Linked DNA regions of Homo sapiens: all the other regions are linked to region 3. Evidence: promoter capture Hi-C in human tissues and cell types (Jung and others, 2019). All regions are on one chromosome and are shown on one strand. The core of a region is centred on a gene start or on the middle of the fragment in contact, and the rest is flanking DNA. Distances in the headings are between cores, read along the strand shown.

Region 1 (2,889 bases), core at 287-2,786, 510 kb after region 3:
TAAGCACTTTCTTTTCTTTTTCTTTTTCTTTTTTTTTTTTTGAGATAGAGTGTCGCTCTTTCGCCCAGGCTGGAGTGCAGTCGTGCAATCTCCACTCACTGCAAGCTCTGCCTCCCAGGTTCATGCCATTCTCCTGCCTCAGCCTCCCGAGTAGCTGGGACTACAGGCACCCACCACCACGCCCGGCTAATTTTTTTCTTTGTATTTTTTAGTAGAGATGGGGTTTCACCGTGTTAGACAGGATGGTCTCGATCTCCTGACCTCATGATCCGCCCTCCTTGGCCTCCCAAAGTGCTGGGATTACAGGCGTGAGCCACCGCGCCTGGCTAGCTGTTTCTTTCTTTTTTTTTTTTTCTCAAGAAAAAGGTGTTAAATAATACAACCATTTCGGAAAATCTTTAAGCAGTTTCTTTTCTTTTCTTTTCTTTTTTTTTTTTTTTTGACAGGGTCTTGCGTTTTTGCCCAGGTTGGAGTGCGGTGGCGCTATTGGAGTGCGGTGGCACTATCTCGGCTCACTGCAAGCTCCGCCTCCCGGGTTCAAGCAATTCTCCTGCCTCAGCTTCCTGAGTAGCTGGGATTACAGTTGTGCGTCACCACACCCGGCTAATTTTTGTATTTTTAGTAGAGACGAGGTTTCACCATGTTGGTTAGGCTGTTCTCAAATTCCTGACCTGGTGATCTGCCCGCTTCAGCCTCCCAAAGTGCTGGGATTACAGGCGTGAGCCACCACGCCCGGCCTACTCAACTAATTTTTACATCTTTTGTAAAGAAGGTAATCTCGAGGAGCTGGGATTACAGGCGCCTGCCACCACGCCCGGCTAATTTTTGCATTTTTGGTAGAGACGGGGTTTCACCGTGTTGGCCAGAGTGGTCTCCAACTCCTGACCTCAAGTGGTCTGCCTGCCTCGTCCTCCCAAAGCACTGGAATTTACAGGGATGAGCCACCGCGCCCGGTCCAGCCTATTTTTCTTAAGATATCATTTGTGTTTTTTTCTTTCTTCCTAACTTACATTTTATAGGGTTTGCTGGTATAGTTTTTATAAAAAAAAAAAAAGTTGGGCCGCGCACGGCGGTTCATGCGAGTCCCTGCTATACAGGCCTTGAGGATTCTGCAGAGACCAAGATAAGCTGGGGGGCCTGAACAGTTTAGCAGGGGAGGCCGAGACTCCTGTAACAATCATGCAGTAGTTAATTACAGGGGGGTGAGTGCAGGGAAGACGACAGGGTGACAGGTATATTGCGTAAGTAGACACTGAGGCCCAGGGAAGCGCAAGGAATAGTCCAGAGACACACAGTCTGCGCTGTCACCGGCGGGTTCTCAAATTTGGCCCGCAGGGTCGGCGGCGCTGGGGCTCCCGGCCCGCGATTGCCACGCCCACCAGACCCGAGGTTGCCCCGCTCAACCCGGCCGGCCGTAGCCGCCAGTACCGTGTGGAAGCGTGAGAGTCGAGGGGTGGCACGTGACTGGCGGGGCGGGGCGGGGCTGAGGCGGTGGAACGCGCAGGCTAGTGGCTGTGTTTCCCGCCGGAGGCTTTTGCGCAGAGCCCCGCGTCCCTGGGGGGCGGCGGCGGCGGCGGCAGCGCAGGCGGCAGAGGCGCAGGCGGCGGAGGCGGCTGGGGGGTCCGGAAGTCAACACCATGTCAAGTCTGCACAAGAGCCGGTAAGGGGCCATGGGGCCTGACCCGGCTGGGCCACTCCTGGCCAGGCTGCCCCTTCTGCCCCTCAGAAGGGGGAAGCGCGGGTGTGGCCAGGAATCGGCAGACCCCCTCGGCAGAGGGTCTCGAGCGTCCACCTTCTAACCTCATTGCCTGTGGGCTGCAGGAACGACGGAGGGGCGGCCCTTCTCCTGCCCCTGATGTCACTGCTTCTGCCTCCCTCATCCTGGACCCCTGGTGTCCCCCTTCCCCTGAGTCTTCCTCATCCAGACCCCCATGCCCCGCCCCCGTGCCTTTCCCCCTTTTGATCCCCCTGCTCCCGTACTCTCTCCAAGTGCACCCTGTCCCCCGTGCCTTTTTCTTACTAGGATTGCTAGAGAACTTGCATTCTCCAGTCTGGCCCCTCCCCCAGGCCAGATCCTGCAGCATTGGCTGAATTTTGCTCACTCTTCAGTTTTCCTTCAGGACGTGTTTTTTAAACCCTTTGTCCTTGCCTTCTGGCAGGCCCAGAGGTCTTGTAATGGTTATATTTGTGAGCATGGTCCATTGTCTGCATATCAAATTACTCCTGGTTCCTGAGGTCCAAGGAGTTCAGTTGGTGGCTGTGCGTGGACCCGGCCTGGCCGGCAGGAAGTGCCCAGTAAATGTCAGCTCACTAAGTATTAGAATGTTGGAATATGTCTAATTTTATGGTCCTCATTTGGGAACTTCTAGACAAGAATATCTCTCAAGTTTCTTCCCTGGCATTCTGTGTTTCTGGTTGTAGAGGAAGAAGTGAAATATAGTTTTGTTGTTCTCCAAAGCTGTCTTTGGTGAGGACCTTGACTAAGCTGTGTGATTTTTATGTCCTAAAGGGGAGAGAGGCACAGGTTGGAAACTGGCAGTGTGAGGGAGCTGAGGGCTGTGGGTCTCACTGAGCCGATATCAGCATGCTTCATTTGCCGCCCTATCTCCCCTTCCAGAATTGCAGATTTCCAGGATGTCCTGAAGGAGCCCTCAATTGCATTGGAAAAGCTGCGGGAACTCAGCTTTAGTGGTAAGAAGCCATTCTGTATTTTCACGGTTTCCCTACAGCAGCCCTGTGGCTAGAATACAGGGGGAGGCCACACCTGGTCAGCTCTGGGGCCCAGCTGCTGGGGGCTGGGGCCTTGGAAGGAAATTACACACAGACTCTTGGGGCCTTTTCCAGATTCTGTAGAGCTGAACAGGCAGTGACTGCCTTGAGCTTGGAGGG
Region 2 (3,157 bases), core at 550-3,049, 330 kb after region 3:
TGTATTCACGGTGTTGTGCAGCCACCCCTCTCTAGTTTTGGAACATTTTCATTGCCCTAGAATAACATTCCTTAACTAATCACCCCCTCTTCTCTCTTCCCCACCCACTAGGAATCCTTTATCTGCTTTCTATGTCTATGGATTTGCCTCTTCTGGACATGTCATATAAAAGGAATCATACCATATCTGACCTTACACACTCAGTTTTGTGCCCTTGTGGTTGTACAGCTGTGAGAAACTGGATCAAATGTATGCCCAGGCCTAGGGCTTCAAGGGTTAATCCTAAAGAAAGGCTTTTTCTTTTTTTTCTTTTTTTTTTAGAGACAGGGTTGCACCACATTGCCCAAACTGATCTTGAATTCCTGAGCTCAAGCGATCCTCCTGCCTCAGCCTCCCAAAGTGCTGGGATTACAGGCATGAGCCACCACGCCTGGCCAACAAAAGCTTTTTCATTTGAAGCTATCAAAGACTTAATTGTAGCTAGAACTTGTTATTCTGGAGGGTGAAAAGATCTTAATTATAAGCCTACTGACTTTTCCTCTGAGAAATTCGGACTTTTAAAAAAATAACAAGAAGTTTTTTAACACTTTGCCCAAAGACCTAGCCTCATTCAGTAGATCAGATTAACCCAAGATAACTTTCTGAGGCAAGAATTATGTCATTCTCTGTTTTCCTGGGCAGAAGATCTCCTTACCAGGTAATATAATAGCTATTTTTCTGGGGTGCTGGTTTCCAGGGACCTCATGTCTTGGATCAATGGAATACGGGGGTTGGTGTCCTCAGATGAGCTAGCCAAGGATGTCACCGGAGCTGAGGCATTGCTGGAGCGACACCAGGTGGGTGGACCTGCCTGCTGAGTAGCAAAGACGTGGCTGCTCTGCAGGGCCCTAGAGGCCTCATTCCCACCCTTTGTGGTGAGTCGGTGGTTGACGTCAGAGTGGGCATCTGCTGCCAGTTACCTAATCCCTTCCCTCCTTTTGGCAGGAACACCGGACAGAAATCGATGCCAGGGCTGGCACTTTCCAGGCATTTGAGCAGTTTGGACAGCAGCTGTTGGCTCACGGACACTATGCCAGCCCTGAGATCAAGCAGAAACTTGATATTCTTGACCAGGAGCGTGCAGACCTGGAGAAGGCCTGGGTTCAGCGCAGGATGATGCTGGATCAGTGCCTTGAACTGCAGGTGTGTGTGCTCCTGGTTTCTGACCAAGTGTTTCCTTGCTGAAGGGCCTCATTTTCTCACCTGCCTCTTGCCCTCTTTAGCTGTTCCATCGGGACTGTGAGCAAGCTGAGAACTGGATGGCTGCCCGGGAGGCCTTCTTGAATACCGAAGACAAAGGAGACTCACTGGACAGCGTAGAGGCTCTGATCAAAAAACATGAAGACTTTGACAAAGCGATTAACGTCCAGGTGAGGCCTCTGGACCATGGAGTTGGAGTCTGGATTTTTCCTGATTGACATCTGTTTCTTGGCTTATATAGTCACTGTTATATCTCCAAGGAATACCTGCGTTGTCTAAGAAAAATATGTACATAAATAATCTTTAAAACTTTATAGATTCTGGTATTTCTGAGATTTTAATAATGGGGGTGCCACAGGAAAAAAAAATATTATCAAAGGGATGGAAAACAAATGTGTGGGTAGGTAAGGGAATAATGAACAAACAACAAGGAAGATGTAAAACTGTTTGATTTATACGTCACTTTGCTGTAAATCTGACAGCATTTTCCTATTATCAGGCTTAATTTTGTTCTGTTCTGATATTCTAACACCTGCCCCACCTGAGTGACCTGGAGACTTCTTGAGTTAAACTCTACTCTAGTAATGAATGAAATCAAGCTTTCTTTTGGCATTTTACACTCTTGCTTCTAAAGTGTCAGTGTATTCTGATCCTGCCACCAGCTAGTTCTCAGTCACCCAAAATAACTATCCTTTTCTCAAGACTGGCAGTCCAGGCAGGGCCCAGCCACAGGCCCACCTTGATCTCATGCCTTTGTTTTCTGACAGGAAGAGAAGATTGCTGCTCTGCAGGCCTTTGCCGACCAGCTCATCGCTGCCGGCCATTATGCCAAGGGAGACATTTCTAGCCGGCGCAATGAGGTCTTGGACAGGTGGGTGTCCTGTGGCACTGACATAGTCACCAGCCCTGAGAGGATGCATCCCCTCATACGAAGGCCCAGGCCTGTTCTGTCTCCCCACTTCCTTCTCCACGGTAAGATATGCTCATGTTGGATCTCATGGTTTCACTCTTTCAGGTGGCGACGTCTGAAAGCCCAGATGATTGAGAAAAGGTCAAAGCTAGGAGAATCTCAAACCCTCCAACAGTTCAGCCGGGATGTGGATGAGATTGAGGCTTGGATCAGTGAAAAATTGCAAACAGCGAGTGATGAGTCGTACAAGGATCCCACCAACATCCAGGTAAGCTGAAGTGACTGGGTGTTGGTCTTGATGTAGCCTTATGTTATTGAGTAGATTTTGTTAAATAAAGCATTTATAAAACAATCTCCTTGCACCCATGGGAAGTCAGTGAGAAATATTTCAGTAAGCCCAGCCAGTGGGAAAGCCCTAGTCAAGTTTCAGAGCCATTTAAAAGTTGCCTTCCTCATTTGTCTCCATTAAAACTATTTCTGCTGTAATAAAAGTCTATAGAATCCCCCTTCTATTACTGTTCCCAAATGCTGAGCTTCCTGGGGGAAGTATGACAAAATGAGTTTCTATTTAATAGCTGATATGTGTGTCCACATCAGTGTACTGAACTCTTGTTCTTTTAATCTGTTTTTGTAGCTTTCCAAGCTGCTGGTAAGTTTTTAATTTTTTTAAGAGTTGTAGTTAAATGAGCTCCAGTATTTGTGTTACTCTGCGTAGATTATTGTTATTATTGTGGTCACACGGTTTGCTGGTGTCTCTTCATCCATCCTTTTCATTTCTAATCATCCATTACACTCCATTCAAGTGTCCCTGTGGGATGTGGCTTTTTCTGTTGTAATTAGCCTGCAACGCCTTACTCCCCCTTCTCTCCCCCAGTTTATCACTTAGGCAAATTCTGTACAGTGTTTGATTTGCGGGGCAGTAATTGACCATTTTCTTTCAAGGAGTGCTTCCTTTTGAAGATGGAACATCAGCTTCAGCTTTTTCTGTGTAGACATTGGCTCAGACTT
Region 3 (2,923 bases), core at 102-2,601:
ATGGCAGAAGGCAGCCTTTCTGTTGAACCTGGGAATTTAACAGAAAGAGGACAACCCAAGCCTCATTTCAGAGAAAAGTCTGGTATACTCTTAGAAATTTATGTGACTGTCATCCCTAAGTACATTAATGTTTTTTCTCTCTCAAGAGAATAAAGGGAGACTGATGCTTCAGAAAGATGCCCCGTATTTATCCTGTGGCACTCCAAGTACCCCAGGTTGAGATGATATGAGGAAGATTCAAGCTGTCAAGTTCAGTTTCCCAAGACCTGTTCCACAGAAGATAAGCAGATCTCATTCCAGAGACCACTGAAGGGCACTCTGGTCCCAGAACCATGGAGAATTCGAATATGAGGTGGAGAAGTCAGAAAAAAATGTTAAAGTCTCTCTGGAGAGTAGAAGCCTGGGGGAAAACCAAACCAATCCCGTTCTCACATTGCCACCCAGAGATACTGCCAATGTTTTCAGTTCACGGGTGAAGTGTAGGCTTTTCACACTGTCAATGTCTATGTTAAGGGTGTAAGGCAGCCTGAAACCTCTCCCTCCTAGGTCCCATAGTCCCCAATCCCCTTCCAGCTGGAAATTTATGCTGTGACCAGAGGAACCAGAAGCGGGATGAGAACACTTAGGGGACTGGGTCCTAAGATCAAAGACTGGTCTCGCGCAACTAATTACGGTTCCGAGGGGGATTGTGACGTCACTACATTCCACTCCTAGGGGGAACATCAGCGCGACGTCCAAGTCGCCGCTCCGCGATGGGGGAGGGGACCGCAGGGCCAGGACCCAGGTCCTTGGAGACCCGAGACCAAAGAACCCCGGGAGGTCCGGTTTGGGGCGGCAGGAGGTGAGGGTCGAGTCTGGAGCGGGGGGCCCCGGGAGTCACGGGCCCAAAGTCACTGGCGAGGGCAGGGGCTGAATTGCTGGGGTCCTAGGTCCTTGGAGACGCCAGCCCAAAGAGCCCAGGGAGGTCGGACTTCGGGGGGCAGGAGGTGAGGGCCGAGTCTGGAGCGGGGAGCCCCGGGAGCACCAGCCCAAAGTCACCCGGGGGCGACTGGCGAGGGCGGGGGCTGGGCGGCTGAGGGGGCGGGGCTGGCTGACAAGACTTTGGTGGAGGGAGCCCGGACGCGCCGTGGGGAGCCCAGCCCGGTGTGCCTCAGGAGTGGCAGAGACTCTGGCCATGGTCCTGCCATCGGAGTGGGGCTGGGGCTGGGTCGGGGGGCCGCGACCCGGTGCACTTTACCTTTTTCTTCGCTGCGGCCAATTTGCTCTGTCGGGTTTCTTCCGACATCGCGGGGCGGGGAGGGAGGCGGGGTTGGGGCCACATCAGCGCGATCCCGGCAACCACTGCGGAAGTCAGTCAGCCACCGCGCAGCTGTGCGACGGAGCCAGAGGAGGCGTAACCAGGGCGATACTGGAGCGCAGAATGGGGGCGTGGCCTCAAAGATCAAAGCCCATTGGTCAATGAGAAATATGAAGCGGAAGGGGGCGTGGCTATGCAGCGGCGTGGCCAGAGGGACCTGTGGCGTCACAACAAAAGCTGCGCACGCAACCGCTGTCCCCGCCCACCTCGGGAGAGGGGCGGGGCCGGCTTTCCTTGGGTGCGCGCGCAGCTTTCTGTGCGCCAGTTCACACTCCGGGTCAGAGTTCCTGGCCCGGTGCACCTGAGAGGTCGCTCTCCGACTCCCGCGCTGGACCCTCTTGCGCCATTGAACCCCCTGATCCGGGGGCCTCGGACCCCAGGGCTCAGGAGGTGGGCGAGGAACGGACTCCACAGTTTCTTTCCTGACTCCTCACAGCCCTGCCCCAGACTCTCCCTTCCCAGAAATCACCTCCAAAGACTCCCATCCAGTGCTCCAGACAACCCCCGTCTCAGAACGCCCCCTTCCTAGAGGGTCTCTACCCTGATCCTGAGAGCGTGTCTGCCCCCTTTCCAGATGGATCCAGTCCCTGGCGCTCCTACTTCCCAACTGCTCCTCCTCCCGCATCCCCACAGTACCCCGTCCTCACAGCGGGCTGTGGGTCCAATCAGACTTTCCCCTCGGATTCCTCTCTAGGACTGAACCAAGACTTACCCGAAGTTGCCGCGGGGCCTTCCGATCCCCTGTGAGTATTTCTTCCCCCACACCCCCTTTCCCATCCTCGACCTTCCCTTGTGCGCTCCCGGCCCCACTCCCCATCCCAACAGCAGCCAATCCCCGCTTGGCCCTCTTCCATATCTTCTCCCAGTCGACTGAGAACCGCCAGGTCATTCCCGAATCCCTCCCCTTCCTTTCCTCATGCCCGCCAGTCTTCAAAGAAGTGTTATCCTGTCCTGTCCTAGGCTAACTCCTCTCCCTCCCCATCCTGTCTCCTGGCTCCTCAGATGCCTTTCACTCCAGTCCAGCACCAGCCATCTCTCCTCCTCGCTCTTTTCACCCCTCACCCAGCCCTGCCTTTAAACAAACCCATAGCTCCCCAGTCAGGAAAATGCTTGGCGTTCACCCTGGCCACTCCTTTCGTTGCTAATAGTCTCTCCTCTTCGCTGGCAAGCCACCCCCAAAACGCAGCCTACTCCTTCTCTCATCCCCCAGATGGAGTTGCCACTACAACTACCACCACTCTTAAGGTAGATCGTGAGGGCCGGGTGCAGTGGCTCACACCTGTAATCCCAGCACTTTGGGAGGCTGAGGCGGGCAGATCATTTGAGGTCAGGAGTTCAAGACCAGCCTGCCCAACATGATGAAACCCTGTCTCTACTAAAAATACAAAAAAATCAGCCGAGCGTGGTGGTGCAGGCCTGTAATCCCAACTACTCAGGAGGCTGAGGCAGGAGAATTGCTTGAACCCGGAAGGTGGAGGTTGCAGTAAGCCGAGATTGCACCACTGCACTCCAGCCTGGACAACAGAGCTAGACAAGTCTCAAAAACAAAAAAGAAGTTAGATCGGG
Region 4 (3,195 bases), core at 1-2,500, 350 kb after region 3:
GGAGGAGGCTGCCGCAGTGATCTGCGGTCTGAAGGAGAGCAGGAAAGGGGGCATGTGTGACTGAGTCTCAGCAGTGTCCAGGTGGACAGTTTGGCTTGGGCATCTGGGGGACATGCTGGTGCCATCTGAGCCTAGGAAGAGCAAGTTCCAGTCCTGTGGAGTCACCACAAATTGGCTTGTCACTCCTTGTTCAGGAAACTTTTGACGCTGGGCTGCAGGCCTTCCAGCAGGAAGGCATTGCCAACATCACTGCCCTCAAAGATCAGCTTCTCGCCGCCAAACACGTTCAGTCCAAGGCCATCGAGGCCCGGCACGCCTCCCTCATGAAGAGGTGGAGCCAGCTTCTGGCCAACTCAGCCGCCCGCAAGAAGAAGCTTCTGGAGGCTCAGAGTCACTTCCGCAAGGTGAGGATGGGGCCACGTGAAGCTTAGCTGGCCCACAGCTCAAGGAAGGACGCCCACCTTCTGTCTGCCCAGCTCTGCCACTCCCCCTTGAGGAAGCTGTGAGCTCAGTGCAGAGCTTTCAAACATGGGTGTGGCTGGCATCAATTAAAACCAGGGCAAATGAGAGGGCCCTGTGAGATCGCCATTCAGAAGCACGCAGGACAGACTAGAGACAAGGGCAAAGGGTAGGAAGGGGAAAAAAGGCTGGTGAAGACTTGAAGGGGGAGCAGGAGACAGGAGCAGAGGGGAGCTAAGCTCCCAGCAGGCTGTGTGCGCCTCTGATTCCCAGGAACCACCCCGCACCCCACCTCCTGCACTGCGTCGGCACGTCCAGCCCTGGCGACTCCGCCAACTCAGTCTCTTCTGCTTCCAGGTGGAGGACCTCTTCCTGACCTTCGCCAAAAAGGCTTCTGCCTTCAACAGCTGGTTTGAAAATGCAGAGGAGGACTTAACAGACCCCGTGCGCTGCAACTCCTTGGAAGAAATCAAAGCTTTGCGCGAGGCCCACGACGCCTTCCGCTCCTCCCTCAGCTCTGCCCAGGCTGACTTCAACCAGCTGGCCGAGCTGGACCGCCAGATCAAGAGCTTCCGCGTAGCCTCCAACCCCTACACCTGGTTTACCATGGAGGCCCTGGAGGAGACCTGGAGGAACCTACAGAAAATCATCAAGGTACACCTCCCGCTGCCCTCAGGAGCTGCTCGGCCTCCCAGAGCCCTCTCTGGGCCCTGCTCAGAGCCCACACTTAACTGAGTCACGACAAGACGAGCAGGATGGAGGAGCATGGTTTCATCAGAAGTTTCATTTCTTTTTGTGTTCTTGAGGCAGGGTCTCTGTCACCCAGGCTTCAGTGCAGTGGTGCTACCATGGCTCCCTGTAGCCTCAACCTCCCAGGCTCAGGTGATCCTCTTGCCTGAGCCTCTTGAATAACTGGGACTACAAGCACGTGCCACCACGCCTGGCTAATTATTTTAATTTTTGTAGACAGGGTGTTGCTATGTTGCCCAGGCTGGTCTTCAACTCCTGGCCTCAAGCAGTCCTCCTGCCCAGGCCTCCCAAAGTGCTGGGATTACAGGTGTGAGCCACTGTACCCAGCCAGAAGTTTCCATTTCTGACAGTCCAGCAACTCCCTGCTTGACTGACCAGTCGCTTCCCTCCAGGTCCGCCTCTTCCTTGAAGCCCCTGGGGGGTGGGAACAGAGAAAGAACTACCAAGTGCTCTGAGCCGGCCTCATGTCTCCCAGCCTCCTCCTCTCATCTTTGGGGAGGTTCCTTGTGGGGAGGCCACCACCACCCTGAGCCCATCTGTGAAGGAGGGGCTGGTGTCACTGCCACAGCAGCGCACAGCATCTGCCCCCCTTTGGCCCTCAGGAGAGGGAGCTGGAGCTGCAGAAGGAACAGCGGCGGCAGGAGGAGAACGACAAGCTGCGCCAGGAGTTTGCCCAGCACGCCAACGCCTTCCACCAGTGGATCCAAGAGACCAGGTGCCAGCCCGCTGGGGCCGGGGAGCAGCAGCATGTCCCTGCTGTACTTAAGCCCTGGGGAGCTTCCAGCCCCAAGGAGGTGGTGGTGCTTTGTGTAAAACCAGAGGCAGCCTGGGAATAAAGCTGGGCTGGCAACGCCTGGTCGGGCTCTGGAGCCGGGAGTGGGGGCATAGGTGGAGCAGCCTCTCAGTGCTGCATGTCCCAGACATCAAGTTGTTAGAGATCCCGGATTGAGTGGGACCATGCAGGGCGCGTGGTCAGCCCCAGCCATGACTTGGTGACAGACGATGCAGGGTCTGTGCGTTGGGTACTGATGTTCTTGCTTTTGTTTTCCTTTCTTTCTTGTGTCTTCTCTCTGTCCCCCCGATTGCTGCTGTTGTCCGGACACCACCTTGTCTCCCGGCTGCTTGGATCTGCTCTCCACAGGACATACCTCCTCGATGGGTTAATATTGTTTTCTTCCTTCTCTGGGCTTGTCATGTGGGGGTCTCGTGCGCTTGCCCCTCGTGGCCTGGCTTGTGGAGGATCCCGGGATGGGCCTTCCTGCCCAGGGCGGGCTGCACTTCCCCTCCCACCCTTCTCGTCACCTGATGAGGAGTGTGTGCCTTGCCCCATAGCCCATGGTCCCTGGTCCCCGATAGAGCCTTCAAGCCAGGGGGAGCCGTCCTTGCCTCACTGGGCGATTCCAAGGGCTCACTTTGGGTAGGGAAGGTGATGAAGCACGAAGGCCAGAGCTGGAGTCCAGAGGCCCTAAGAACCCCCGTGCCTGTCCAGCCACCGGGCTCTGTTGGGCTCTCACCTCTGCTTCCCCAGCGAGTCCAACAGTGGTCAGTGGGCATGAAGCAGATGGCAGTGCTGGGGGCTCAGGCAGGGTACAGTAAGTCCACAGCTGAGAAGGGCTGGGCACTGACACCCCCTAAGTAGCTGAGGCTGCCACTTTACTTTCCTGGGGTCAGGGAGGGTAACAAGACTGTCCGCCCTAATAGAAGGCAAAAATGCACCCGTTATGTGATAGACAGGACGTGGGAGGAGCCCCAGGGAGGAGCAGGGCTGGGCTGTCCCGCCCAGTCCCGGCAGGGACTTCTCTGCTTGGCCTGGGGCCTCTGCCTGGCCGGGTCACCTTTGTAATCTGCCAAGCCTGCTGTGAAAGCCAGGGCTGCTGGGACTGGAGTGGCTTGGCCTGCACTCCTGAGGCTCTGCACCCAGGCACATCAAGCCTGTATAGGCGGCCAGGGGAGAAATAGACCCATCCAGCCGGGCCACACATTCTG
Region 5 (2,987 bases), core at 274-2,773, 450 kb after region 3:
GGGCCGGGTAGAACAGGAGTGGGTGGGGTTGGGGTGCAGTTGGAGGTGGGGAAGTGTGTTCCTGGCTGAGCAAAGGCCTGGAGATGTTGGTTCCATGAGTGGCTGTGTGTGGCCAGCAGTTCATCTGCACTTTTATCTGGAGGGTCAGAGGGAACCATGGAAGGTTATAGAGCCAGATCTGTTTTGGAAAACCTCATTGCTAAAGAAATGGATCAGGGGAAGCCTGGGGGCAGAGAATCTGGCCAGGAGGAAGAAGAGAGTCGCTACAAAGGCCTGGCAGGAAGTGAGGGAGGAAGGAATGGACAGGGGGCTGCTGGGTCAAGGGAGCCAGACCTGACTGGATGTGGGAGAGAGGGAAGAGGGGTCCAGCGTCTCTGGCTCTGCAATGGTGAGAGACTGGTTAGGTCTGAAATGCCTGAGAGAGATACAGTGGGAAGGGTGCAGCTGGCAGGCTCAGATGCTGCAGAGGGGCATACGGAAGGGTCCAGCAGGCTTCAGCCCAGGGAGGTGACAGGATTTTGGGGAGGTAGGGTGCAGGGCAAGGAGTGAGGGGGCATGAGACCACCAGACAGCAGAGTGTAGACAAATCCTGTGTCCCTTGGTTGTAAGGGGGAGCAGAGAAGAAAGGGTGGGTTTTGAGGGGGGTTTTCTGATACGGAGACCTGAGCAAGTTTTTAGGCTAAAGGGTGAAGGTGGTGGAGGAGGTCTGTCTTGGGAGGAAAGCCAGAAGGGGCCCCAGTCCAGAAACTGAGGCTGGACCGCCATGGAAGGAGGGCTGGGGTCTGCTGTGGGGGACAGTGGGGGAGGCTGCCTGTGGCAGGTGAGGCGCTGGGTAGGGGGCTACTAAGAGGAATGAGGGAAATGGAGGTGGGTGGGTGGGTGAATCTGTGGGAAGATGGGAGACAGGCCGCACCCCATGGAGTGTTCTCTGGCCTGAGGGTTTGCCTGGACTTGGGCAGCTAGTGGCCATGGGGGTGTGGGGGGTGTGGGTGTGGGCAGAATGCCAATCTTTGCATCTAGTTGAGCCTCCTAATCGTATGGATAGGAAGATTTGGGGTCAGTTCCTGGGAAGGATCATGTGGGTCCCAGGATCAGGGGACATGGGGCTCAAGTCGGTCCTTGGATCTGGTGGGCACCGGCTGGGTCCTGGGATGGACAGGGCATTTGGCAATGATCAGGAAGATGCTGGGATTAATTAGGGATCAACGGGGTATCAGACAGAGAGCAGGTGGCTCTTGGAATGATAGATGGGGAGAGGGCTTCAGGAGCTGGTGGAGATCGGGCCAATCCCAGGATCTCCAGGGATTAGGCGGGAGACCCAGTGTGACCAGAACGTCTGGGGAAGTACGCGGGATCGGGTGGGTCCGGGGTCGCTCGGGGTCCGGCTCACCGGTATCGTGCAGGAAGAGCACCAGCGTGATTCCCCAGGTCAGCACGGTGTGCCCGGTCCGCACCAGGACCCCAGGGCTGAGGAGCGCCCAGGGCGCCATCGCCTCGGCCCGGGGCCCCACCCGGAAGAAGCGCCCAGAGGGGCGGGCCCTCCGAGGGAGGGGAACGCCGCCGCCCGGGGACTGGTGGATCTAGGCGTTGGGCGGGGCCGGACTGGGTCAGGGAGGCTGCCTATTGGATGGCATCTGCGGCCGAATGGACCCTCAAGCCAACAGGTGCCTGAAGAGGCTGAGGGTGGGGCCGGCGCGCGCGCAGCTGGTAACTCCCTCAACTCCAGCCCCACCCGCCAGGTAACTTTTGAAAGCGCCGGAGCGCGCGCGCACCTCCCCCGCGCTCCGCTGTGCCCTCCCCCGCGTTCCCCTGTGCCCGCCCTCGCAGCCTCGCGCATGCGCGTAGCTCCCTGGGCGCTTCGAAGATCCAGCGGCTTGCTGTGAGTCCGGGAGGCAAAATTGTACCCATTTCAAAGATGTGATGACTAAAGTCTCGAGAGGGCCAAGGCTCGCCCAAGGTTGCTCTGTGGTGACAGCTTTACCTCCTTGCTATGTATTCTCAGATATTGCAAACGGACGAGAGAAAAGTGGAGGTACGTGGTGCACATTCTGACTATGGGTGATCCAACTTAGGCGGGAGTCAGAAATCCCAGCACTGCCCCTTCCTACCTGTGTGACCCTGGGCGAGTTACTGAGCCCCTCTGAGCTGTTTTCTGTCTCTATAAGGGGGATTACAATAGTGTCTTCCTCCTAAGGTGTTTGGGAGGATTAAATAATGGAAGCGCCTTGTCTAGCACGGGACTGTCTTGCCTCTCCTGCTGTGAGCCACCACCTACAGGCGGACTTTCCTCACCGGAGGCTGCAGGCTGTCCTCCTTCCCTGTGTCCCCAGGGCCTTCTCCACTCAGCCCCGCCTTTCCACAGCACCTCCCACTGATACCAGCATCCTCCTCCGCCTCCCTCTGATTGGCCCCATCCCAGCTCCTCCAGGATACTCCTCTGACATCTGTTGTTTTTCTCAGCTCAACATCCTTTTTTTGGTTGGGGAATCGACTTCCCATCCCATGTGATTGGAGGGACTGCCCCTCACCCCATAGGATGGCGAGCGGCAGGCTGTGGGCTTTCGACTCTGCAGAACCAATCACAGGCCTTCCATGAGATTACTGTCTAGATGCTGAGAGGAAGGAGCATTCTTTTGGATCTCAAGCCTAAGGAATGGGATATAAGGCAACTGGGAGCCGTCTTTACGCTGGGCGGAGAGGGCTTACCCTGTCTGTGGCTGGAGAAAATGAGACCAACTTATAAAGACACATAGAGATGGATAAGCAGCACTAAAGGAGGGAGCAAGAGATGGTCTGAACAACATTGTCTGAGCCCTCTAGATCCGGCTGTCCCTGAAGCTGATACTGACTCTGCATCCCCTGGTTGCAAGAGTCAATGAATGCCCACCTTTTTTTTTTTTTTTTTTTTGAGACAGAGCCTCACTCTGTTGCCTAGGCTGGAGTGCAGTGGCGCGATCTGGGCTCACTGCAACCTCCACCTCCCAAGT
Region 6 (3,241 bases), core at 114-2,613, 310 kb after region 3:
AACAATCCTCCTGCCAAAGCCTCCCAAAATGCTAGGATGATAGGAATGAACCACCCCTTCTGGCCCATTTTTCACTTTTTATTATGAAAATGTAATCATACCTAAAGGAGAGAGAAGATGACTTCTCACTCACCTTCAACCGTTAACATTTGTCACTCTTGTTTCATCTATGTGAAACCATATGTGTGCTTACATACATACTAACATACCAACATGCACACATACATATATACATACCTACAAACATACCAGCATACACATGTACATACCAGTGCGCACATATACCCACATACCAACATGCACACATACATACATAGATGTACTTGGTTTTTTACTGGTTATCTGTTTTTTGACTAAAATTCTCAAATTTTATTCATAAAGGTCTAGGTATAGTTCCTGTACCTAGCTCTTACCACTCTTCACAAAAACTAGAATGAGTTGAATTTTTCCTTTTCTTTTTTTTTTTCTGAGACAGAGTCTCACTCTGTCATCCAGGTTGGAGTGCAGTGGCATGATCTCGGATAACTGCAACCTCCACCTCCTGGGTTCAAGCGATTCTTCTGCCTTGGCCTCCTAAGTAGCTGGGATTACAGGCGCCCGCCACCACGCCCAGCTAACTTTTTTTGTATTTTTAGGAGAGATGGGGTTTCACCACATTGGCCAGTTTGGTCTTGAACTCCTGACCTCAAGTGATCTGCCTGCCTCAGCCTCGCAAAGTCCTGGGATTACAGGCGTGAGGCACCGCGCTCGTTCTGTCGCTAGGGCTGGAGTACAGTGATGCAATCACGACTCCCTACAGCTTTGACCTCCTGTGCTCAGCAGTCTTCCTGCCTCAGTCCCCTGAGTAGCTTGGACTACAGGCACGCACCATCACATCTGGCTAATTTTTGTATTTTCTGTAGAGATGAGGTTTCAGTATGTTGCCCAGGCTGGTCTTGAACTCCTGGGCTCAAGCTGTCTGCCTGCCTCAGCCTCCCAAAGTGCTGGGATTACAGGCATAAGCCTCTGTGCCTAGACCAGGATGAGTAAGCTATAATCATAATATATATGATTGTCCCAAAAGATGAGAATCCTGAAAAACTTTGAAAATGATATTAGCACTGTAAGAAGGGCAGGAGGTGATTACGTCATTGTGCAACTGAGAAAGGCTGTTGAGGCAGGATGGCAGGTTGGCGAGGCAGTGGAGGATGGGAGGCTTCAGCCCCTGCACAGTGCTCCATGTGTGGTTTTGGTTTCAGGCTCTACTGAAGAAACACGAAGCTTTGATGTCAGATCTCAGTGCCTACGGCAGCAGCATCCAGGCTTTGCGAGAACAAGCACAGTCCTGCCGGGTAAACTTGTAACAGTTTATGGGTTACTGGAGGGAGGCCTTGAAGGACTCAGATACTGTCAGCAGGTGTTCCTATCATAGGCCCCATTTGACTCTGCTATTAACTCTTGTGACACAAAGATTTACAGAGTTTAAAATAAGATTTATTTATTTATTTATTTATTTAGAGACAGAGTCTCACTCCGTCGCCTAGGCTGGAGTGCAGTGGCACAACCTCGGCTCACTGCAACCTCCGCCTCCTGGGTTCAAGCGATTTTCCTGACTCAGCCTCCTGAGTAGGTGGGATTACAGGTGTTCACCACCATGCCCAGCTAAATTTTTTTTTTTTTTTTGAGATGGAGTCTTGCTAGAGTGCAGTGGCACTATCTTGGCTCACTGCAACCTCTGCCTCCCAGGTTGAAGCAATTACCCTGCCTCAGCCTCCTGAGTAGCTGGGATTACTGGCGCCCGCCACCACGCCCAGCTAATTTTTGTATTTTTAGTAGAGATGGGGTTTCACTATGTTGGCCGGGCTGGTCTTGAATTCCTGACCTCATGATCTGCCCGCCTTGGCCTCCCAAAGTGCTGGGATTATAGGTATGAGCACTGTGCCCGGCCCTACTTTAAAATGAGATTTTTTTTTTTTTTTTTTGAGATGGAGTTTCACTCTTGTTGCCCAGGTTGAAGTGCATTGGCCTGATCTTGGCTCACCGCAACCTCCGCCTCCCAGGTTCAAGTGATTCTCCTGACTCATCCTCCCGAGTAGCTGGGATTACAGGCACGCACCACCACGCCTGTCTAGTTTTGTATTTTTAGTAGAGATGGGGTTTCTCCATGTTGGTCAGGCTGGTCTCGAACCCCCGACCTCAGGTGATCTGCCTGCCTCAGCCTCCCAAAGTGCTGAGATTACACGTATGAGCCACCGTGCCCAGACAAAATGAGATTTTTTTTTTAAAGATACCAAAAATTTAAAGTTCTTGGATCAGATTTTATTGGTAGCTTCAGTGAAGAATTCTCATGAGTGTATATTTGGTACATTTGGTACAGCTGGTGGCATTTGAATCTGCTCTGTACTTAGATGACTCAGCGCGGACGTGTTTTTACCATGTTTGCCCTTCCTTTGGATTTTTAGCAACAAGTGGCCCCCACGGATGATGAGACTGGGAAGGAGCTGGTCTTGGCTCTCTACGACTATCAGGAGAAGAGTCCCCGAGAGGTCACCATGAAGAAGGGAGATATCCTTACCTTACTCAACAGCACCAACAAGGCAAGGCACAGAGAGTGGCTGTGTGTTTGTTCCACGCTGGCACCTCCACGTATGCTCAGTTGGGTTTCTGTGGGTTGCATGTCTCCCTGAAATGAGAAGGCTTAGAATTCAAAGACATGAGTTTCCTCACCAATCCCCCACGTGACATACATTTATGCAGTACTGTGTATGACCAAGAAGTTAATCTGTCTTCTTGAATACCTGCAAGAAGCATAGATAATCACACTCAGAAGGATAGCTTATTTTCACCATTGAGTGTCTCTAGGTGGAATTTTTGTCCTGTCAAGCCAAAGTTTGCTTTCTGTATAACTTGGACCTGTTGGTTCTTTTTTTTTCTTTTTCTTTTCTTTTTTTTTTTTTTTTGAGACAGAGTCTCGCTCTGTCACCCAGGCTAGAGTGCAGTGGCACGATTTCAGCTCACTGCAAGCTCCGCCTCCTGCGTTCACCCCATTCTCCTGCCTCAGCCTCCCGAGTAGCTGGGACTACAGGCGCCCACCACTGCACCTGGCTAATTTTTTGTATTTTTAGTAGAGATGGGGTTTCACCGTGGTCTCTATCTCCTGACCTCGTGATCCACCCACCTCAGCCTCCCAAAGTGCTGGGATTACAGGCATGAGCCGCCGTGCCCGGCCTTTTTTTTTTTTTTTTTTGAGACAATGTCTTGC
Region 7 (2,898 bases), core at 399-2,898, 420 kb after region 3:
CTAAATTAGGTGATAATGGTTATTATAATTTGGTTATTTTGCATGACTCAAGCTAGTAAGTAAATACACTCTGTAATCTCAACCAATTTTTTAATTTGTTAAATACTATCATTGTCAACATCTCTTTTCATTTGCTTCAGACTTAATGAACAAGCCAGTGAGGAGATTTTGAAAGTAGAACAGAAATATAACAAACTCCGCCAACCATTTTTTCAGAAGAGGTCAGAATTGATCGCCAAAATCCCAAATTTTTGGGTAACAACATTTGTCAACCATCCACAAGGTATGTTTTGGACAGGGCATTGTTAAAGGATAAACAGTGTTTGTTAGAATGGAGGAAGCTTGGTGAAGACTTAGTCCAGCATGCTGGGTTGCGTGCAACAAAGACAGGCTGGGTGCGGTGGCGCACCTGTAATCCCAGCACTTTGGGAGGCCGAGGTGGGTGGATCACTTGAGGTCAGGGGTTCGAAACCAGCTTGGCCAACAGGTTGAAACCCCGTCTCTACTAAAAATACAAAAAAAATTAGCTGGGCGTGGTGGCGCGCGCTTGTAATCCCAGCTACTCGCTACTTGGGAGGCTGAGGCAGGAGAATCGCTTGAACCCAGGAGGGGGAGGTTGCAGTGAGCCGAGATTGTGCGCTTTTGCATTCCAGCCTGGGCGACAAGAGTGAGACTGTTTCAAAAAAAAAAAAAAAAAAAAAAAAACCTCAAAGACGGGAAAAGATATACAGCTACTGCTTTCTATTCTGTTTAGGAGAAGCTATATTCTAATTGCTTGATGAAAGATAGTGACAGTCTGATATTGAGCAATTGCCTTTAGTTAATAATGGGTTTATAAAACCAAAGATGCTCACTAAGTTCGGAAAAATTTTAAAGGGATCACTTAAATTGTTGTTAGTGTGTGCCTGTTGAAAATTCAGCTGACCTGTAATTTTCTGGCCTAGTGTCTGCACTGCTTGGGGAGGAAGATGAAGAGGCACTGCATTATTTGACCAGAGTTGAAGTGACAGAATTTGAAGATATTAAATCAGGTTACAGAATAGATTTTGTAAGTATCTCTAACTTAATCTTGTTTGCCACTGTGGAAATTAATGTGAGCTTTGGTTGGAAGACCTGTTCATATTTCTAATCTTTCAATTATTTATTACAGTATTTTGATGAAAATCCTTACTTTGAAAATAAAGTTCTCTCCAAAGAATTTCATCTGAATGAGAGTGGTGATCCATCTTCGAAGTCCACCGAAATCAAATGGAAATCTGGAAAGGTATGTTTTGAGGAATTATTTGACAAAAATAGCATTTTGCCTATTTCAGTTTAGTTTTAACCACTTACAAGTGCTTGATACTTTGGTCATGTGGCTAAATACAAAACCTTAAAATATAAAACGTTCCAGTGTGCTGAAGCCAAGTATTACAGTAGTTTAGGGTTCTCATTAGATACTACAGATGTAGGCAGGAAGATCTCTTGAGCCTAGGAGTTTACCCTGGGCAACATAGACCCTTACCTTCCAAAAAACAAAAAAAAAGAGAAAAATCTAGCCCAAGTTTAAGAATTGAGAACTGGACTAAATTTTTTGTTGCTGTTGTTTTCTGCAGTGGTGACTGAGCTCTTCAAATGGCTTGCCATTTCTCAAAATCATTTACATCCGTATTTAGGTAGTAAGACATAGTTTAGATATTTATACTGTGTTGTGCTAGTGGCTGTTAACAGTGGAACTAATTTTATGGAAAACCAAATGTAGTTGATACTACCTCTACCTGCTGCACAGTTTTATAATTGCTCTTAGGTAATAATGGTAGCGTAGATAGTATACTGATATTTGTTTTGCTTAGCTTTTGGGGAAAATCTTATTTTTTAAATTATAGGGAGTTTGGGTGTTATGGAGAGATTGTATCAAAAGCTCTTCCGGTATTCATTTAGGATTTGACGAAACGTTCGAGTCAAACGCAGAATAAAGCCAGCAGGAAGAGGCAGCATGAGGAACCAGAGAGCTTCTTTACCTGGTTTACTGACCATTCTGATGCAGGTGCTGATGAGTTAGGAGAGGTCATCAAAGATGATATTTGGCCAAACCCATTACAGTACTACTTGGTGAGTTCTAATACTCATTTATTCAAGGTTGGACTTGTCTCGGTTGTTTAAAAATGAGTCCTTATATTGTGCTTTTTTTTTTTTAAGGTTCCCGATATGGATGATGAAGAAGGAGAAGGAGAAGAAGATGATGATGATGATGAAGAGGAGGAAGGATTAGAAGATATTGACGAAGAAGGGGATGAGGATGAAGGTGAAGAAGATGAAGATGATGATGAAGGGGAGGAAGGAGAGGTAAAAGAAAATTTGGCTAAACCCACAAAGATAACTTTTAAAGAATTCATGTTATTTTGGGGTGTATATATATATATATAGTGTGGTAGAACTGACCAGAACTGATTGTGGAAAAAAAGTAAGCCATTTTGTTGTTCAAGAATTAAGGAAATGTTTGATAAGCACATGGTACTAATGTTTAACTAGGTTTTTTTTGGTTTTTTTTTGGGTTTTTTTGGTTAGACTTATCACCACCCAAGCTTGTTTTTCCCTAGCCAGTACTTAGGCAATATAGGCAGTGTAGCTGGTCAAATTCTGACATCTCTGAAATAACAAAGTTTCATGTATTTTCGACAAACTGCACAATTTCTGAATAGTCAAATTAGGATAGGTTGGTTTTATTTCGGATTATTTGATCCGAAATATACCTGATTTGGTTAGAACTGAAGTTACTAATTAATCTGAAGCAACATCATCACGGGTGTTTCCTTCGATGCAGCTGACTTACAGGTTTAGAAACTGGAGTGCCCCCAGGGGCACTCGTGGGGTCCATTGTGGTCCATATGAAAGCAAGTCTCAGCATTAATCCTGAAG

The links. Contacts are between HindIII fragments. The study calls those that stand out against the background at their distance.
Region 1: a contact is called between the fragment with the promoter of TBC1D13 here and the fragment with the promoter of GOLGA2 in region 3, in 2 of the 25 tissues and cell types used here (dorsolateral prefrontal cortex and spleen).
Region 2: a fragment that was not itself captured here is called in contact with the fragment with the promoter of GOLGA2 in region 3 in 1 of the 25 tissues and cell types used here (dorsolateral prefrontal cortex).
Region 4: a fragment that was not itself captured here is called in contact with the fragment with the promoter of GOLGA2 in region 3 in 2 of the 25 tissues and cell types used here (H1 embryonic stem cells and dorsolateral prefrontal cortex).
Region 5: the fragment with the promoter of ZDHHC12 here is called in contact with the fragment with the promoter of GOLGA2 in region 3 in 1 of the 25 tissues and cell types used here (dorsolateral prefrontal cortex).
Region 6: a contact is called between a fragment that was not itself captured here and the fragment with the promoter of GOLGA2 in region 3, in 2 of the 25 tissues and cell types used here (dorsolateral prefrontal cortex and lymphoblastoid cells).
Region 7: a fragment that was not itself captured here is called in contact with the fragment with the promoter of GOLGA2 in region 3 in 2 of the 25 tissues and cell types used here (dorsolateral prefrontal cortex and lymphoblastoid cells).

Annotation. Positions count from the first base shown.
Region 1 is chr9:128,785,717-128,788,605 of GRCh38, forward strand. It overlaps TBC1D13 (TBC1 domain family member 13), which reads left to right and starts at 1,537. Exons shown (of 12, transcript NM_018201.5): 1 at 1,537-1,660; 2 at 2,618-2,691. The coding sequence starts at 1,638. RefSeq lists a silencer at 1,185-1,674. The HindIII fragment of the contact is 9,895 bases long and covers 1-2,889 here.
Region 2 is chr9:128,606,868-128,610,024 of GRCh38, forward strand. SPTAN1 (spectrin alpha, non-erythrocytic 1) reads left to right here. Exons shown (of 57, transcript NM_001130438.3): 32 at 737-836; 33 at 985-1,182; 34 at 1,263-1,409; 35 at 2,007-2,110; 36 at 2,255-2,417; 37 at 2,784-2,798. Among named protein-coding and RNA genes, the nearest start is that of DYNC2I2, 48 kb to the right of the region's middle. The HindIII fragment of the contact is 5,536 bases long and covers 1-3,157 here.
Region 3 is chr9:128,274,656-128,277,578 of GRCh38, forward strand. It overlaps GOLGA2 (golgin A2), which reads right to left and starts at 1,352. Exons shown (of 27, transcript NM_001366244.2): 1 at 1,238-1,352. The coding sequence starts at 1,321. It overlaps SWI5 (SWI5 homologous recombination repair protein), which reads left to right and starts at 1,621. Exons shown (of 5, transcript NM_001318089.2): 1 at 1,621-1,747; 2 at 2,052-2,100. The coding sequence starts at 1,686. RefSeq lists enhancers at 816-865, 1,726-1,855 and a silencer at 1,016-1,125. The HindIII fragment of the contact is 26,420 bases long and covers 1-2,923 here.
Region 4 is chr9:128,625,575-128,628,769 of GRCh38, forward strand. It overlaps SPTAN1 (spectrin alpha, non-erythrocytic 1), which reads left to right. Exons shown (of 57, transcript NM_001130438.3): 48 at 195-404; 49 at 817-1,113; 50 at 1,812-1,924; 51 at 2,351-2,368. Among named protein-coding and RNA genes, the nearest start is that of DYNC2I2, 30 kb to the right of the region's middle. RefSeq lists an enhancer at 1,448-2,093. The HindIII fragment of the contact is 6,522 bases long and covers 1-3,195 here.
Region 5 is chr9:128,722,604-128,725,590 of GRCh38, forward strand. ZDHHC12 (zDHHC palmitoyltransferase 12) reads right to left here and starts at 1,524. Exons shown (of 5, transcript NM_032799.5): 1 at 1,391-1,524. The coding sequence starts at 1,490. ZDHHC12-DT (ZDHHC12 divergent transcript) reads left to right here and starts at 1,859. Exons shown (of 2, transcript NR_046240.1): 1 at 1,859-2,032. RefSeq lists a silencer at 1,413-1,892. The HindIII fragment of the contact is 17,684 bases long and covers 1-2,987 here.
Region 6 is chr9:128,586,368-128,589,608 of GRCh38, forward strand. It overlaps SPTAN1 (spectrin alpha, non-erythrocytic 1), which reads left to right. Exons shown (of 57, transcript NM_001130438.3): 20 at 1,239-1,331; 21 at 2,442-2,576. Among named protein-coding and RNA genes, the nearest start is that of SPTAN1, 35 kb to the left of the region's middle. The HindIII fragment of the contact is 3,861 bases long and covers 1-3,241 here.
Region 7 is chr9:128,691,718-128,694,615 of GRCh38, forward strand. It overlaps SET (SET nuclear proto-oncogene), which reads left to right. Exons shown (of 8, transcript NM_003011.4): 3 at 141-283; 4 at 945-1,048; 5 at 1,151-1,264; 6 at 1,921-2,091; 7 at 2,179-2,325. Among named protein-coding and RNA genes, the nearest start is that of SET, 3.9 kb to the left of the region's middle. The HindIII fragment of the contact is 6,023 bases long and covers 1-2,898 here.